Linked DNA regions of Homo sapiens: region 2 is linked to region 1. Evidence: promoter capture Hi-C in human tissues and cell types (Jung and others, 2019). All regions are on one chromosome and are shown on one strand. The core of a region is centred on a gene start or on the middle of the fragment in contact, and the rest is flanking DNA. Distances in the headings are between cores, read along the strand shown. Region 1 holds the start of MYCN (MYCN proto-oncogene, bHLH transcription factor). Region 2 has its middle 110 kb from the start of LINC01804.

Region 1 (7,797 bases), core at 3,335-5,834:
TTTATTGACAATTTGCATTTCTTATTCAGTAAATTACCTGCTCGTATCCTAGAGTCATATTTCTGTCTGCCCGTTTTTTTCTATTCAATTTGTGGGAGCTCTTTGTATACCTGGGATCTAATCTTTGACTCATATATATGGCAAGTATTTTCTATTACTGTTGTCAACTTTTTATCATAGTAAAATTCTTACATCCAGCACCCCCACCCCTCCCCTGCCCTTTTTTTTTTTTTTTTTGCATTTGGGTTAGGCAGAGAGCTAGCTTTACTGTTTTCCAAATGAAGTCAATCGATCCCAAGGATTTTTAAATTATTTAATCAGTAAAAATGTACACATTTTGAGGGAGGTGTGAAGATCCTAGGAGAAACTGTGCTCTTGTCCCTGAAGACAGACTCAGTAGATCTTTTTTTTTTTCTTTTGAGACAAGGTCTCACTCTGTCATCCAGGCTGGAGTGCAGTGGTGTGATGATGGCACACTGCAGCCTTGATCTCCCTGGGCTCAGGTGATCTTCCTGCCTCAGCCTCCCAAGTAGCTGGGACCACAGGCACGCACCCACCACGCCCAGCTAATTTTTATATTTTTTGTAGAGACAGGGTTTCACCATGTTGCCCAGGCCGGTCTCAAAATCCTGGGCTCAAGCCATCTGCCCTCCTCAGACTCTTGAAGTGCCAGGATTACAGGCGTGAGCCACCATGCCTGGCCAACCCAGCAGATCTTTAATTCACAATCTGGAAAAACCATCTAGAGGCTGTTGCTCTCCTAGCCAGTCATGATTTGGGCCCTTCTCAACATGTGTATGTGTGTGTTGTTTCTTTGTGTGTGTGTGTCTTAGTAAAGAGGAGATTTGTAAACTAAAATATTCTCCTCTCTCAAAAATCACCTTAATTATAAACCAAATGCTGTGTATAACTCTATCCTAGCAGTTGGTGATTAGATTGAGGCATCCATTTCAGATGTGGGTCTCCTTCCCTGGTCCACAGTGAGCTCCTTGCGGCTGTACCTTAACTTACCTCTGTTCCAAACCCACCCAGGGGCTCAGACACAGTAATAGATGGGTACTTGTCTCAGTTCATTTTGTGTTGCTATAACCTAATAGCACAGACTGGGTAATTTATAAAGAAAAGAAATGTATTTCTCATGTTTCTGGAGGCTGAGAAGTCCAATATCAAGGTGCCAGCAATTGCTGAGGGCCTTCATGGCGTACCATCCCCTGGCAGGAAAAAGGAAGAGAGGGCAAGAGATCAAACTCCTAGCCTCAAGCCCTTTTATAATTAGCATTAATCCATTCACAAGAGTGGAGCCCTCATGACCTAAACACCTCACATTAGGTCCTGAGACAGGAATAATATAAGGTGGCTGCAGAATAATAGAAGATTTTGGGCAGCAATTTCACATGACTAGCAAAAGGAAACTGTTGAAATGGCTGCAGAGGCCATGGGCTAAGACCGTGAAAAACAGAGTGTAGACCAAGCTGGCTAAGACCCACTGAACCCAGCATGGCACTGGATTTGACCTAGGTTTCTCCTAGGACCTCATTATACGCTCATTAACATACTAAATCACACACCCCACTAGCATCATGACACTTCCGAGAACACCCATATTTGGTTTAAAAATAGGTGGTGTCACAGTTCTGAGAAATCTCCTTCTTTTTCTAGGAATGATCATGAATATTCTGCCTCTTGGTTAAAGAAACCCGTAAAGGTAGCAACCCCAAACCCCCTTTCGTGTGAGTCTCTCGAGTACACCCATATTCCCTTTTCTTGAGTGTGTACTTTTCCCTTTGCAATAAATCGTACTTTCACTATTTTCCAACTGGTCTTTGAATTCATTCTCTTGATGGTGTCAAGAGCCTGGACACTGGCTGGGGTCTAGGTCCCACTGGCATTTGGGGACCTCCCCTCCAACACTGTTGCACTGGGGGTTAAACTTCCAACGTGTTTTTTTTTGGAGGACACATTCAAACCATGGCAGTACTGAACAAAACCTTGGCTTTGAAACCATATGAAGATTTGTTTTGTGTGTGTTCACATAGTTGAAGTATTTCAACATTTTTAAGAGGGATTTTCAGGCTTCTCTATAAGCAGACTAAGAATCAGCATTAGCATGTTTTCTCCATGTACAAAGTCTTTTATCTTTCTACTTACAAATGAAGGTAACCAATAAATATTTGTTGAATTTTATCATTCTGTTAACCTTCAGATTCAGACTTGTCAGTAATTACTGGCTTGCATTAAAAGCAGGAGATTAGAGATTGAGGTCCAGGAAGTATAAATGATTTGCTCAAAGGCATGTAGAGTAACCAGGTCTCCTGTCCCTCTGTCCCCCTTTTCTGCTACACCTTGTCCCTCGACAAAGGGTGAATGACCTAGTGATGGTCATTCATCTGAGGAGAAAGGACAAAGGTAGGACTTTGAATCGGAGCAACTGAACCCATCCTGGCCTATTTTCACAGTCTTGCCACAGAAGATCTGGCCACCTTAGAAGGACTCATTCAGTGATCTTGGTCTTGAATAATACCATGAGTACTTACTATATACAGGTACACTGCTGTGCCGTAAGGATTCCCTCTGGAGCAAAACTGACCCAGGTCACAGGTTAGTGAGGGAGACTGAGCCTGTCTTCCACAGTGTCACGGAAGTGAGCACTAAACAAATACTCCCAGGCATGGATCATTACAAATGGAGGTGAGTGCTGGACAGGAAAGGACAGGATGCTAGGCGAGAATTCAGCAGGAGGGCTTGGTGGCGATTAGGGGGCTAGGGAAAAGCAGAAGTGGGGCTGTAAAAGGCTTTTGCAAAGATGAAGGCTTTTACATTTGTGAGGGAAATAACAATAATAAAGGTGCTTGGAAGGGCTGCTCATCCGCATTCATGGGCCTCTTCCTAGAACTCTGGGAATCTTTCTCCCTAGAGCTCTGTAGGCGTCCAGGGTCAGGGCTGGAAAGGCCTTCACAAATGCTAATCTGTGAGCATTTTATGGGTTGCCCCCTGACCCTCAGCATCCTCCTCCTTAACTAGATCCAATGGTGAGGTGAAGAGGTGGGGGCGATGGAGAATGGCATTTCCAGTTTGGAGAAAAAAGTAGGGAGAGGCGGGGAAGCCTTCCCACCCCAATCCCAGGGCCAGGTTCCCCTCTCTCCAAACAAGCCTAAGGAATGTTTTTCAAGGCAAAATCCCACCTCACTGTGTATTTGGTTGTGAAGGGGGCTGTCCAGGAGATCAGGGTTGTTTTTGGAGAGTTTGGAGGGCAGGGGCAATAATGTCTGACCCCCTGCAAACAAATACACCTGTAAGAAAAGCTAGACCAGAGTGAAGTAAAGCCAGGATTTGATGGTGGCGGGAAGGGAAGGGGCCAATGCTGCTGCTGGACAGAGGGGTGTTATTTTCCCCAGAAGAATAGCATGTCGTGGTCATCATCATAATAATAGCTGACACAACTATTATGGGCTGGGGACTTATAAGAGCTTTCATAACTCTCAGGTAGGAGGCACTACGAACTCCATTTCACAATTGAGGAAACTGAGGCACAAAGAAACGAAGTAGTGACAGCAGCTTTCCTTTTTCCCTTCAACAGTTTGGAATCAAGCTGTTTGAGCCGAGGCTGGGTCTCAGGAGGTGTGGACAGCACTTCCATCTCGGTAAATCAGATTCGCCTGCCCATAACTGGGGAGAATGGTGGCTTTGAAAAGGTTAACTTGGGAGCCCTGGGGACGGCTGCAGGGAACGTACGCCCATTCCCCCTAGGAAGCAGAGCCAGGCCGCCTCCTCCTCCGCAGTGGTGAGGACGCGTGGACAGTCCCGCGGGGGCGGCGGGAGACCTGCGGAGTGGCCGCACTCCAGGTCCGCGCCAAGGCCGGGCAGCTCCGCTTTCTGCTCAGTCTCCGCGAGGTGTCGCCTTCGGCCGAAGAAACCACCGCGGCGCCACCCTCGTAGCTCGCACTTATTTATTTATTTATTTTCAAACAAGGGGGGCGCCCCTCTTCTTTCAATTTGAAACTGGAAACATCCAGAGGTCTTGTTCCTAAGGGGGCGCGTCCTCTCCCTGCTATTTTGCACCTTCGGACTAGCCTTCTTTCGTAATTACACAGGAGCAACCTCCCTGCAAGGCCTTGCTCAACGTTGGCCTCGCGCTCAGCTGCACAACACGCAGTCAAAGCGGGGGCTGGGTTAGAAGCATCGGTCTCCCCTCCCCAACACACACCCCCGGAGCCCTCCGTAATTTTTTTTTCTTTTAATGACAAGCAATTGCCAGGCTCGCAGGGTGGGTGCTGCATTGCACCGCTCCGCGCGCAGCTGGTTCTCAGAGTGCAGCCGGTGCAAGCCCGGGGGTCCAAAAGGGCGGGAGGAGCACACCCTGGGCTTCCCAGCTTTGCAGCCTTCTCTCTGCAAAGAAAAGCAAGTGGCTTTTGGCGCGAAAGCCTTGGCGCCTCCCCTGATTTTTATGGAAATCAGGAGGGCGGGGTAAAGCCGCTTTCCTCTCCTTTCTCCCTCCCCCTTGTCTGCGCCACAGCCCCCTTCTCTCCCCGCCCCCCGGGTGTGTCAGATTTTTCAGTTAATAATATCCCCCGAGCTTCAAAGCGCAGGCTGTGACAGTCATCTGTCTGGACGCGCTGGGTGGATGCGGGGGGCTCCTGGGAACTGTGTTGGAGCCGAGCAAGCGCTAGCCAGGCGCAAGCGCGCACAGACTGTAGCCATCCGAGGACACCCCCGCCCCCCCGGCCCACCCGGAGACACCCGCGCAGAATCGCCTCCGGATCCCCTGCAGTCGGCGGGAGGTAAGGAGCAGGGCTTGCAAACCGCCCGGCGCCCAGGGAAGCGACGAGCGCCGGGGCAAGGCAAGCCCTGGACGGGATTGCGACGTGCGCACCGGGCGCCCTAATATGCCCGGGGGACTGTTTCTGCTTCCGAAACAAAACCATCTCTGGGTTTTCCCAGAAAAGCCAGTTCCAGCCCCGAAGGCATCCTGGCTAGAGGAGACCCGCCCTAATCCTTTTGCAGCCCTTACCGGGGGGAGTAATGGCTTCTGCGAAAAGAAATTCCCTCGGCTCTAGAAGATCTGTCTGTGTTTGAGCTGTCGGAGAGCCGGTGCGTCCCCACCCCAGGCTGGGGTTCTTCTCCAAAGGGTGCCCCTGGAGGAAGAAGAGGGGGGGATTAGGCAGGGCGAGGCCGCCGCGGTCGCAATCTGGGTCACGGCTGCTCCAGCTTGGAGGAGAGGCGGCTCTCCCGGCGACCCTCCTCGCGCGGGCGCCCCTGCCATTCCCGGGAACAGGGGCTCAGCCTCTCCCTCCCTGGAAGAGGACGTTGTCGTGGGTTTGGAAGAGCAGGGGTGGGCTTAGAGAGCTTCCAATTAAGCTATTGGCAGGAGTATCCCTGCAGCGGGTGAATGCCGAGGGGCGTTTGCTCAAATTTGGGGAGGGGAAGGATTTGTGGATATGGGTGTCTGTTGTTGGTCTCTGTCTAGAGAAAGGCTTTTTTTTATTTGCAAAGTTTTCTAAATCCCCTGCTATCATTTGCACTCCTGAGGTTGCATTTTTACAAAGGGGGTAGAAGGTACTCCAAATACCATTCCCGGTAGCTGGGTCGGAGAGCCTGGGGCTTCCCCTGAGCAGCCGGCCCCACACCGCTGCGAGTGCGGTTGTCTGCGTGCTCGTGAGAGCTAGAATTCTGCAGCCAGGAACAGCCCCCTCCCCCAGGCAGTGCCTTGTGTGAATGAAATGGCAGTTTCCAAAGTTGCGGAGCCTCGCCACCACCCCCTGCATCTGCATGCCCCCTCCCACCCCCTGTCGTAGACAGCTTGTACACAAAAGGAGGGCGGGAGGGAGGGAGCGAGAGGCACAACTTCCTCCACCTTCGGGAGCAGTGGGCAGAGTGGGGGGCTTGGAGGGAAGATTGGGGAACCTGGTTAGAGGGGGCGCCCATTGCCTATCCCCTCGGTCTGCCCCGTTTGCCCACCCTCTCCGGTGTGTCTGTCGGTTGCAGTGTTGGAGGTCGGCGCCGGCCCCCGCCTTCCGCGCCCCCCACGGGAAGGAAGCACCCCCGGTATTAAAACGAACGGGGCGGAAAGAAGCCCTCAGTCGCCGGCCGGGAGGCGAGCCGATGCCGAGCTGCTCCACGTCCACCATGCCGGGCATGATCTGCAAGAACCCAGACCTCGAGTTTGACTCGCTACAGCCCTGCTTCTACCCGGACGAAGATGACTTCTACTTCGGCGGCCCCGACTCGACCCCCCCGGGGGAGGACATCTGGAAGAAGTTTGAGCTGCTGCCCACGCCCCCGCTGTCGCCCAGCCGTGGCTTCGCGGAGCACAGCTCCGAGCCCCCGAGCTGGGTCACGGAGATGCTGCTTGAGAACGAGCTGTGGGGCAGCCCGGCCGAGGAGGACGCGTTCGGCCTGGGGGGACTGGGTGGCCTCACCCCCAACCCGGTCATCCTCCAGGACTGCATGTGGAGCGGCTTCTCCGCCCGCGAGAAGCTGGAGCGCGCCGTGAGCGAGAAGCTGCAGCACGGCCGCGGGCCGCCAACCGCCGGTTCCACCGCCCAGTCCCCGGGAGCCGGCGCCGCCAGCCCTGCGGGTCGCGGGCACGGCGGGGCTGCGGGAGCCGGCCGCGCCGGGGCCGCCCTGCCCGCCGAGCTCGCCCACCCGGCCGCCGAGTGCGTGGATCCCGCCGTGGTCTTCCCCTTTCCCGTGAACAAGCGCGAGCCAGCGCCCGTGCCCGCAGCCCCGGCCAGTGCCCCGGCGGCGGGCCCTGCGGTCGCCTCGGGGGCGGGTATTGCCGCCCCAGCCGGGGCCCCGGGGGTCGCCCCTCCGCGCCCAGGCGGCCGCCAGACCAGCGGCGGCGACCACAAGGCCCTCAGTACCTCCGGAGAGGACACCCTGAGCGATTCAGGTAAAGACCGAACTCGGGTCCGGCTGCCTCCCTGGGGCACTGGACCCCGGGTCGCGTCCCCTTTGTTAGTGCTCGTATGTCTTGGCCTGGGGAGCATTTTGGAGGCAGTGCTAGGGGCAGAGAGGTCCTGTTTCCCCCAAGTCTCTCCTCGGGGTAAAGAGAAGGGGCTGAGAGAATGCCGTTGCAAAAGGGGTGCTCTCCAATTCTCGCCTTCACTAAAGTTCCTTCCACCCTCTCCTGGGGAGCCCTCCTCTAGGCCATCACGGGCCCTCACCCGGTCCCCCACCTCTCTTTTGCAGCGCAGTCTGAGGAATAAAATTGGAGAAAGTTGGTGGCTAAACCGGGTGGGGGTTTAGGGGGTTGCTGGGTGCACTGCCTGGACAGAAACCTGTTAGCGCAGGGGTGAAAGGGACTCTCTGGCCCAGGTCAGGGGAGGGAAAGACATCCCGAGAAGATTCAAGGGCTGTGCAAAGCCCTGTTTAAGGCGCAGGAACTTATAGGAGGGTTGCACAGATGGCTAGAGCCGATTTTCTATTCTTTTTCTTTTTCTTTTTTTTTTTTTTTCAAATGTCGGTACCTTTCCCTTCCCCCATCCTCGGTGGGTGGTGGGCTATTTGCTCCTGGTGCGTGGCCAGCAGGCGGCGATATGCGAGGCCAGCAGGCGGGCCCGGGATCTGAAAGGCTGGGGGTGGTGGGGGCACCCTCCCTCCCTCCATTCAGCAGCTGGCTGCAAGTGCAACAGCAGTTGTGTACATTCTCAGGGGGCCTCCTCTTTCCAGTGTGCAGTGGAAACTGGCTGTAGTTTTGTCTTCCAGCCTGAATTCCAGGCCTAATTTGAGATGTGAGTTGTATCTGTAACCCAGTGCCCTTGAAGGTGAGGGCAGGCACTCAGCAGCCTCTCCAGGAAG
Region 2 (7,797 bases), core at 3,627-6,126, 140 kb before region 1:
GTGCTCAGGAAATATTCGTTCCTTTCCTGCTGTCCGAGAGTTCTCCCAGAATGTCATCCTTGGCCACTGACCCTCAGCATCCTGGGGGTTCCTCCTGCCCCTGGCCATACCACCTGCCTACACACCACCATGCTGGTGCCAGGAGGGCGGCCTGGGAATCCTGAGATGCCAGGTGGGAATGGCTGGGAAAGGGAAGAGAAAAGACCAGCAGAGAAGCTTTGCCCGGAAGGTAAGTGGTTCCTGAAGTTGGAGAGAAAGTTGCCATTGATTATTTTCCCCCTCCAGGATCTCCTAAAGCTCATTAAAGAGAATGTTTCCTCTAGCAGTGCCAGCAGGCTGTGAGTTTCTGATCTGCCAGAAGGCTTAAAGCCTGCTCCATCTCCCCTTCTTCTTTCCCTCCTCCCATGTCCCAGACCCCAGGGATGTGGAGAGAAAACGACAATAGGCAGGGACCCTACTCTCCCAGAGCTCCTGGCCCAGAGGTAGGCATGAAACATGTGCACAAATACAGTCAGTCCTCATTATCCACAGATTCTCTATTTGCAAATTCACCTGCTGGCTAAAATGTATTCATAATCCCCAAATCAATACTTGTGGTGCCTTTGCAGTTATCCAAGAACCTGCACAAAGTGGTGAGAAATTTGAATCACCTGACGCACATGCTCCCAGCCTAGGCTGAATGGTGCAATGCTCTGCCTTCTTGTCTCGGCTCTCAGACTGTGTCCGAATGTCCTTTCTGAGGTATATTTAGTGCCATGTTTTTCGCATCTTCGTGCTTGTTGTTGTTTAAATGGTCCCTAAGCACAGTGCTGAAGTGCTGTCGAGCGCTTCTGAGCACGAGGAGGCTGTGATGTGCCTGACACAGAGCATCCATGAGTTAGCTAAGCTTTGTTCAGCTGCGAGTTGTGCTGTTGGTCGTGAACTGAATGTTAGTGAAACAACAATATATATTTGATAAGGTGTCTTTAAACAGAAACGTGCATAAAATAAGGTGATGTATTGATTGGTTGACAACAGTGTTGTGATGAGAAGCTCACAGGAACCCGGCCCTGTATTTCTCCTAGGAGCTGTGGTTCCGTGTCCGCTAATTTGGCATTCAGGCAGCTTGATAGAACATAACTCCCATGAATAATGAGAATTGACTGTTACCTGCAGTACCAGCAGAATGGGAGGCCTTAAGAAGCTCCCAGCTGGGTGGGGGTAGGAGACATGGCTGCAAGCAATCTTCTGGATCAATTGTTCCAATGCTTCCCATGGCTGTTACCAAGCTTTCCCCTCCACCGCTCCACAAATAAAATAATTGAGCTGGACTTGGTAGACTGGGGCAAATTCTGGCCATGGGAAGACCTGAACACTAAAAAGAAGCAGCCAGTTCTTTGTTGAAAGCTTGATATACCCTTGAGTGAGTCTCTTCCTCTTGTCTTCTGTGCCCTTGGCCATAAACTAGAGAGACTGGACCAGACAATCTCTAAGACTTTCAAACTCCAACTGGCCGTGACTCGTTGAGATTCAGAAAAAAAGATGAAAATCTTTGCGTTCCTGGAATCATATCATTTGTTAAGTCAGGTCAAAATGTATGCAACTCTTCATGGCTCCACCCATACCCTGTTTTTGGATGTCACAAACATTTATTGGACAGTGATTATGCACCATAAGAAAGGGCTAAAGCTTTTACATATCTTTTTATGTTAAAAACAAACAAACAAAAGCTATATGTCAGGTACTGTTGCAAGCTCTTTATCTGTGTTAATTCATTTAATCTTGACAATGACCTTATGAGGTAGTTACTTTAATTATCTGCATTTCACATATGGGGAAACTGAGGCATGGTAAGTCGAATGAGTTTCTCCAAGGTCACACAGCCAGTAAGTAGGCACAGTGGGATTCCAATCTAGGTGCTCTCTGCCGGAGCCTGAGTCCTGAGCCCCTGCACTCCCCTCTCCTGCCTTTCTTGTCTGTCCAAGCCTCACTGCTCACTGACCAGCAGCAGGAGTATCACCTGGGAGCTTGTTAGAAAGGCCACACCCTAGACCTGCTAAATCTGGCTCTGCATGTTAACAAAGCCCCCCACCCCCACCCCCAGGAGACTCAAACACACCTACAGTGTGAGCAGCCCTATGTTAGACCATTTAACCTTCCTTTGGATGAAGAGGAAGTAGAGCTCAGTGGGATTAAGCAGCCTGGCCAAGGCCACACAGGAAGAAAACGCAGAGATGAGGCACTTGACTCAGGTCGTGATGCCACGCTGGAGGTGCCCTCCTGGGCACTCATGGCTGTGGGGGAAAAGTGGGAAGCTTCAGTTTAGTTTCAGAGTAAGTTCATATTCATTTGCTTGACAGATGAAGCTTTTCCTTAGAGGAGAAACCCTGACATTGAGCGGCGGCACATCCTGTTGACCGGGAGCCAGGCCCTGGCTGCAGCCAGCGGGGAACATCTGGATGACATTAGCAGCCTGAGTGTTTGGTTACAGAATATGTCCACCTGGCCTGGCCACAGCCAGGAAGAGAGAAGAGCTTGGGTTCAAGAGGGAGTTCCAGCAGGCGTAAGTAGTGGCTGCTAGGAAAAGCCTCTGAAGCGCATTCCGACGTGGGCTTCAGGCCAGGAGCAAGTGCAAGACTACGTTTTGGTGGTGTCCTAGGTGGGACAGAGTTTTCTTAAAGACGTAAAGTTTCCTCAGGGGGCAGCCAGTGTGATCCCATAGCTCAATCCCAGATCCTCTTGGCTGTTTTGCCGAGGGACTGTCCAGTTTCTGCTCCCACTCTTCCAGGAGCAGGAGGCTCACTTCTTCCTGAGGAAGTCAATCTCTTGTCCAAGCCCCCAGACTCCTGAAACGCCTTCTTGGTGATAAGCTGGAATCCTCCCCAAAGCTTCCAGACTCTGCCTTAGAGACACAGAACAAATCCCTAAACCATATGATGGTACTTCAGATATGAGAAATCAGCATCTGGTCCAGACTGGAGGGCTGGGGGATGATCAGAGTGTGGAACCACCTGTCCTCTGGGTGGTGCTTGTGAAGGAGGGTGTTGGGGGTTGGGTGGAAATAGGTGCCACCCAAGACCACCTGAGACAGCCTTGCTGGGTGGGCACATGAGTGGAGGCCGTTGGGCAGGTGGGAGTCAATTGCAACCCTGAGGCAGGAGAGAGGATGGGGAATGAGGAGTAGGGCAGCTGGTGGCCAGGAAAGCTGAGATCCAGGAGGGGACAGGGGAGGAGCAGGTCAACAGGAGTGGGTCGGAAGCACCTCTCTCATACGGAGTCTGGGCTTGAGTATCTCTGTAGGGTGTGCATTACACTGCTGCCCTCACAGAGCTGTTCAGGGTCCGGAGCCTGTCTCACACCAAGCAGGTTTTCAGAGAAGAGGCTTTGAGCTGGGTGTAAAAAGAGAGTCGGAGAATGGGCCCTTTGCAGTTAGATTTACCCAGGCTCAGCATGTCCCAGCCCCAGGCCCGGGGACAGATTTACACAGCTTTTCTGAATCTTAATGTTCTCCCCTGTAAAATGGAAGCGTAATACCTACTTCCTATCTTTCGTTGGATTCAGTGCTTAAATGCATGGAATGTGGTTAGCAGAGTGCTCAACCCATAGAAAAGTTTGCACCCTTTTAAAATATTTCTGGGTGAGCAGGAATTAAAGCTTACATGGCAAACTTTTCAAATATCTGTTTATGGGCAGGAGGAAAGTGAGATAAAAATGGCTTTTGTTTCTAAGGCACCCATGAGGCCCATCCTTACTCCTTGAGGAAAATGTGTATCTTGGTTAAGTCGCTATTAACCCCTGGCTGTTTCCCTCGACCGCTGGGACGCCACCTTAGTGTCCACCTTAGATATCTGTAGGTGCCCATGATGACACAGGCTTGGAGGGTTTCACAGGCGCCATCTCATTTAATTTAATCCTGGCTGCCACTCTAGGGTCATCTTTCCGTTCCGTTTGTACAGATGCAGGAACTGAGTTGCAGAAAGCTTTAGGGAGGCTGTGTGACTTGCCTGAGGTCACACAGCCTCTGAGTGTGGGGGGCAGGGGAACTTTCCCCCGAGTCTCCCCATTAGCTACCCTCCAGGACAGAGAGGTTTTCTGAGGAGGGTGGGTTTGAGCTGGGGGATTCGTCCACTCCCTGACCCCACCTTGGCCCTCTCCTCACCTTGGCCTTTCCTGGGCAAGGGGCCATGGGGCAAGAGACCTCCCCAGACCTCCAGGTCCGCACCAGGCCCTGCAGCTGGCAAACCTCCTCATCCCCAACAAGGGCGGGCATCTCCCAGGCAGCACCCCCTCTCCGGAAAGCATAATCAGCAGCAGCTAATCTAATCAGATGGGGCTCCCACAGCTGAGCCTTCCAGTCCAGAATCCACCCCTGCCCCTGCCTGCCAGACCCCTTTTCTAAAATCTGTGATCTTCCTGCTTGAAATCACCTTTAATTTCCCTCAGGAATGAACAAGCATTTAGAGGTTTGGTTTCAATTACACCTGGAAAAAAAGTTTGACACAAATTTCAAGCCAAATAAATTAGGAAACCACAGACCCGGGACTACAAAGCGAGCGACGAGGAGAGGCTGAACTTCATCCCTGGGTGAGCGCAGACCCTGTGCCATGCTCCTCACTGCTCACCAATGCCTGGCCAGCGTTCTCCTCCCCTGCCTGGGCTTTCTCCCCCAGGAAGCCTTCCTTGACTGCCCCAGCCACCAGGGGTCTCTCCTGCCTTTGCTCTCCTAGAGTCACAATTCTGTGGGTGACTGCCTTAGGAAAAGAATCGCTTTGTAACCACCTCTTACCTCCCAGCTCTCTCACATTCCCTCACCAAATATGCATCCGTGGAGGCCGCAGCAATGATAATACCCAGTTTCCACATGATTAATGTGATTTCCTTCACCTCATTTCTTTTTCCCTCAACCACCAGAGCAAAGCATCAACCATTGCCCAGGTATCAGCTTCAACAGCACCTCCTTCAGGAAGCCTTCCTTGATTGCTCCAGGCCAGGCAGAGGGTGAGTGCAGGAGGGAATCTGAGGTCCCAACATATCTGATTCCCAAATCCCTGGGCAATATTACAGTCTGGCTGGGGATGCAGGGCAGCAGCACAGGACATGTGTACGCCGTCACCACCTGCCCACGGGAATGCAGCCATCTAGGGAATGTGGGGGTCCTCAGAGTTGCCCCTGAGGGCCAAGGGGTCCCAAGTAAATATAAACAAATTGTCCAGTAATCTGGTCTCCAAAGATGGGCCAGGCTCAGAGATGTGGTCATGCCAGAAAAATAGCTGATTTTGGCTCCGGAAGACACTAACTGTGAAGCGGAGCTGGACTAGGAGTGGACCGTTTCCATCAAAGAGGTGGGTGGGATTTAGCACACTGCCTTCCTTGTTTCTGTGTCCATTTTCTCCATAACATTGTGAGCTTTTGAGGACAAAGTTTTTATCTGGTTAACCTGTGAATGGATGGCACTTACTTAGTCATTCAATAAATATTGGTGGAAGAAAGTAAGATATGGAGGAAGGTTGAAAGGAAGGACAGAAGGGAAAAAGAGAAGAAAGGAGGAAGGGAAGGAGGGAGGAAGGAAATGCCAGAGGAATCCCTGAGACATCTCAGCCAAGTGCCACTGGCCTCAGCTAGTCATGGTAGATGAATATTTGTAAAAGAAACTAAGCTGATTCCGATGCTTCTGGGAAAAAATCCCAACTTCCAGGCTTGAACTTTAAGCTCCTCACCATCTGGCCCTAATATTTCCTTCTGGCCTCATCTCCCACTATCAGTGAATGAACTCAACCAGCCTGCATGCAGTTGGCCACAGCCTGGCCCTAGCACTGAAATCGCCACCTGGCTTTCTTATCTCTGAGTCACTCAGTCCCCATATCCTACTTGGATGGAACCCCTTGAGAGGTTTTAAGGGTCCTTTCCAGGCATCCAGTCCTAAGGATACTCATCTCTGAAAAGAAAGAGGAGAAAGAAAACGGATACAATGCAGGATCATGAGTGTGACAGCAGAAGGACTTCCAGGATAAGATGGAGCCTCCAAGGCTAGCTGAAGGCTCAGAGGGAGAAAAGTGCCTGAACTAAGGCTTGGAGGATGAGCTATGATTGCTGGTGATTAAGGGAGAAGACAGACATTCTAGACAGAGGAGGGGCCTATGCCCAGGCACAGAGAGCAGGTGCTGTAATGGATCCACTGCCCTTCCTCTGGCTCAGCCTGGACAATTCCTTTGCATCCTAGAGGTCCCAAACTTTCTTCTTCCGTGCGTTCCTCCCTCTCTGACCCTGTGGTCCCTCCAGCCCCCTCCCACAGAGCACCTGGTGCCACCCTCTCTCAGTGCAGGGCTCTGGGTCTGGGTCTGTTTTGCTTCATGGTCAGAGGTACAAGCACAAGTCACCCTCTTGCTCCTACTGGTCTGGAAGCACCCTAGAAACAGGTGACTCATCCTTGAGGTAGTCTCTAGCAGAGCCTGAAACAGGTGCTCAGCTGATGCAAATCTAAACACAACTGTAGCTATGACTATCGGGTGCTGTGCCAGGCACCAGATGTGCAGAGACAAATACAACCAGTAGATTCACGTACCCTTTTCTATCTAGGGAACACTCAGCCAGTGCTAAGTGCTTGGCATTTGTCCTTGCAGCAACCTGGTTCCCAATTGGGTCACTGTGACAGGGGAGAAATCGAAGGCCAGAGTCACAGATCCCACAAGTGGCAAAGCCAGACCTCAAACCCAGGGTGTTTTGAGTTCCAACTCAGCATATTCCCCAACACCCCAAGTGCCCTCCCTGCTCCCGGGGTTGTCCTGGGACTAGCTGGGAATGAGGCGAGTGAGGCAGTGCTGAGAGATCTTTGAAGGGCTCTGCAGGCCAATAGGTCCTCAGGCCTCACACCAGGAAGTCCCGGCTGCTTCCTGGACAGGAAGGCAGCGCAGGGGAGAGGGCAGGTGCCTGGGGACCCTGGGACCCTGGCCTGATCCTTCTTGTACATGAGCCACAGGGAACACAGCCTACAGGGCAAGCCCAGGAGCATCCCAAGAGGATGGACATAGGGGAGAGTGAAGTCAGGCCATCGCATATTATCCAATTTTTCTGGCACCAAAATCCCTGCTCCCCCAGGTCAGCATACTGCTCCCGTGATGTCAGCGCATGCAGTCAGAGTCAGAGGCACATGCACGAGAGGAACTGCATGGGTTCAATGAACCCGGGAGGTTACACTGTGAGGGGACGACCCACCAGATGGGACTATTAGAATTCCAGAAGTCTACACCATGTATGTCCGGCATGGTCTCTGGCTTCAGGCACAGCCCTGTCCCCACACCCCACACCCCACACCCACCCCAGTATAGTGAATATTCACCCAAGTATAGCGAATGCCAAGGGCTTTGCAATCATTTCGGTAATGACTTGATATTCCAGAGGATCTAACACCATGCCCAGATGGGACTTCAGGTGTATAAAGTGTTTTTACCTCCAGCCGGTTCCTACCGTGTCCCTGAGTACTGGGGTTCACCCCCATCCCAGGTGAATAGCAGGCCCCAAGAGATAACATGCTTTGCCGAGGTCACACCTTTATTTCAATGACACAATCCTTTATCAACACCCACTCAGTAAAAGGGACGGTGACGCTTTGCACATTTCATTTCATTTTTACAACGATCCTGAGAGACAGAAATTAATACCCTCATTTTACAAATGGGGAATGAAGGTTCTGAAAGGAGTTGATGCAATTTGGCTAAAGTCACACAGTGGGTAAGCAGCCGATGTGGGACTCAAACCCTGTCACACAACTGTGTACGCCAGCTCCGAAGAGAGCAAAACCTGGCAGAAGGAAGTTGGCCA

Evidence for each region. Contacts are between HindIII fragments. The study calls those that stand out against the background at their distance.
Region 2: a fragment that was not itself captured here is called in contact with the fragment with the promoter of MYCN in region 1 in 1 of the 25 tissues and cell types used here (heart left ventricle).

The regions. Positions count from the first base shown.
Region 1 is chr2:15,935,966-15,943,762 of GRCh38, forward strand. MYCN (MYCN proto-oncogene, bHLH transcription factor) reads left to right here and starts at 4,585. Exons shown (of 3, transcript NM_005378.6): 1 at 4,585-4,778; 2 at 5,983-6,889. The coding sequence starts at 6,100. It overlaps MYCNOS (MYCN opposite strand), which reads right to left and starts at 5,720. Exons shown (of 4, transcript NR_110230.2): 1 at 5,567-5,720; 2 at 5,009-5,132; 3 at 2,535-2,760; 4 at 300-1,211. MYCNUT (MYCN upstream transcript) reads left to right here. Exons shown (of 3, transcript NR_125783.1): 3 at 1-53. RefSeq lists enhancers at 2,581-3,138, 4,183-4,713. The HindIII fragment of the contact is 20,661 bases long and covers 1-7,797 here.
Region 2 is chr2:15,793,157-15,800,953 of GRCh38, forward strand. No RefSeq gene overlaps it. Among named protein-coding and RNA genes, the nearest start is that of LINC01804, 110 kb to the left of the region's middle. RefSeq lists an enhancer at 7,593-7,797. The HindIII fragment of the contact is 7,599 bases long and covers 1,078-7,797 here.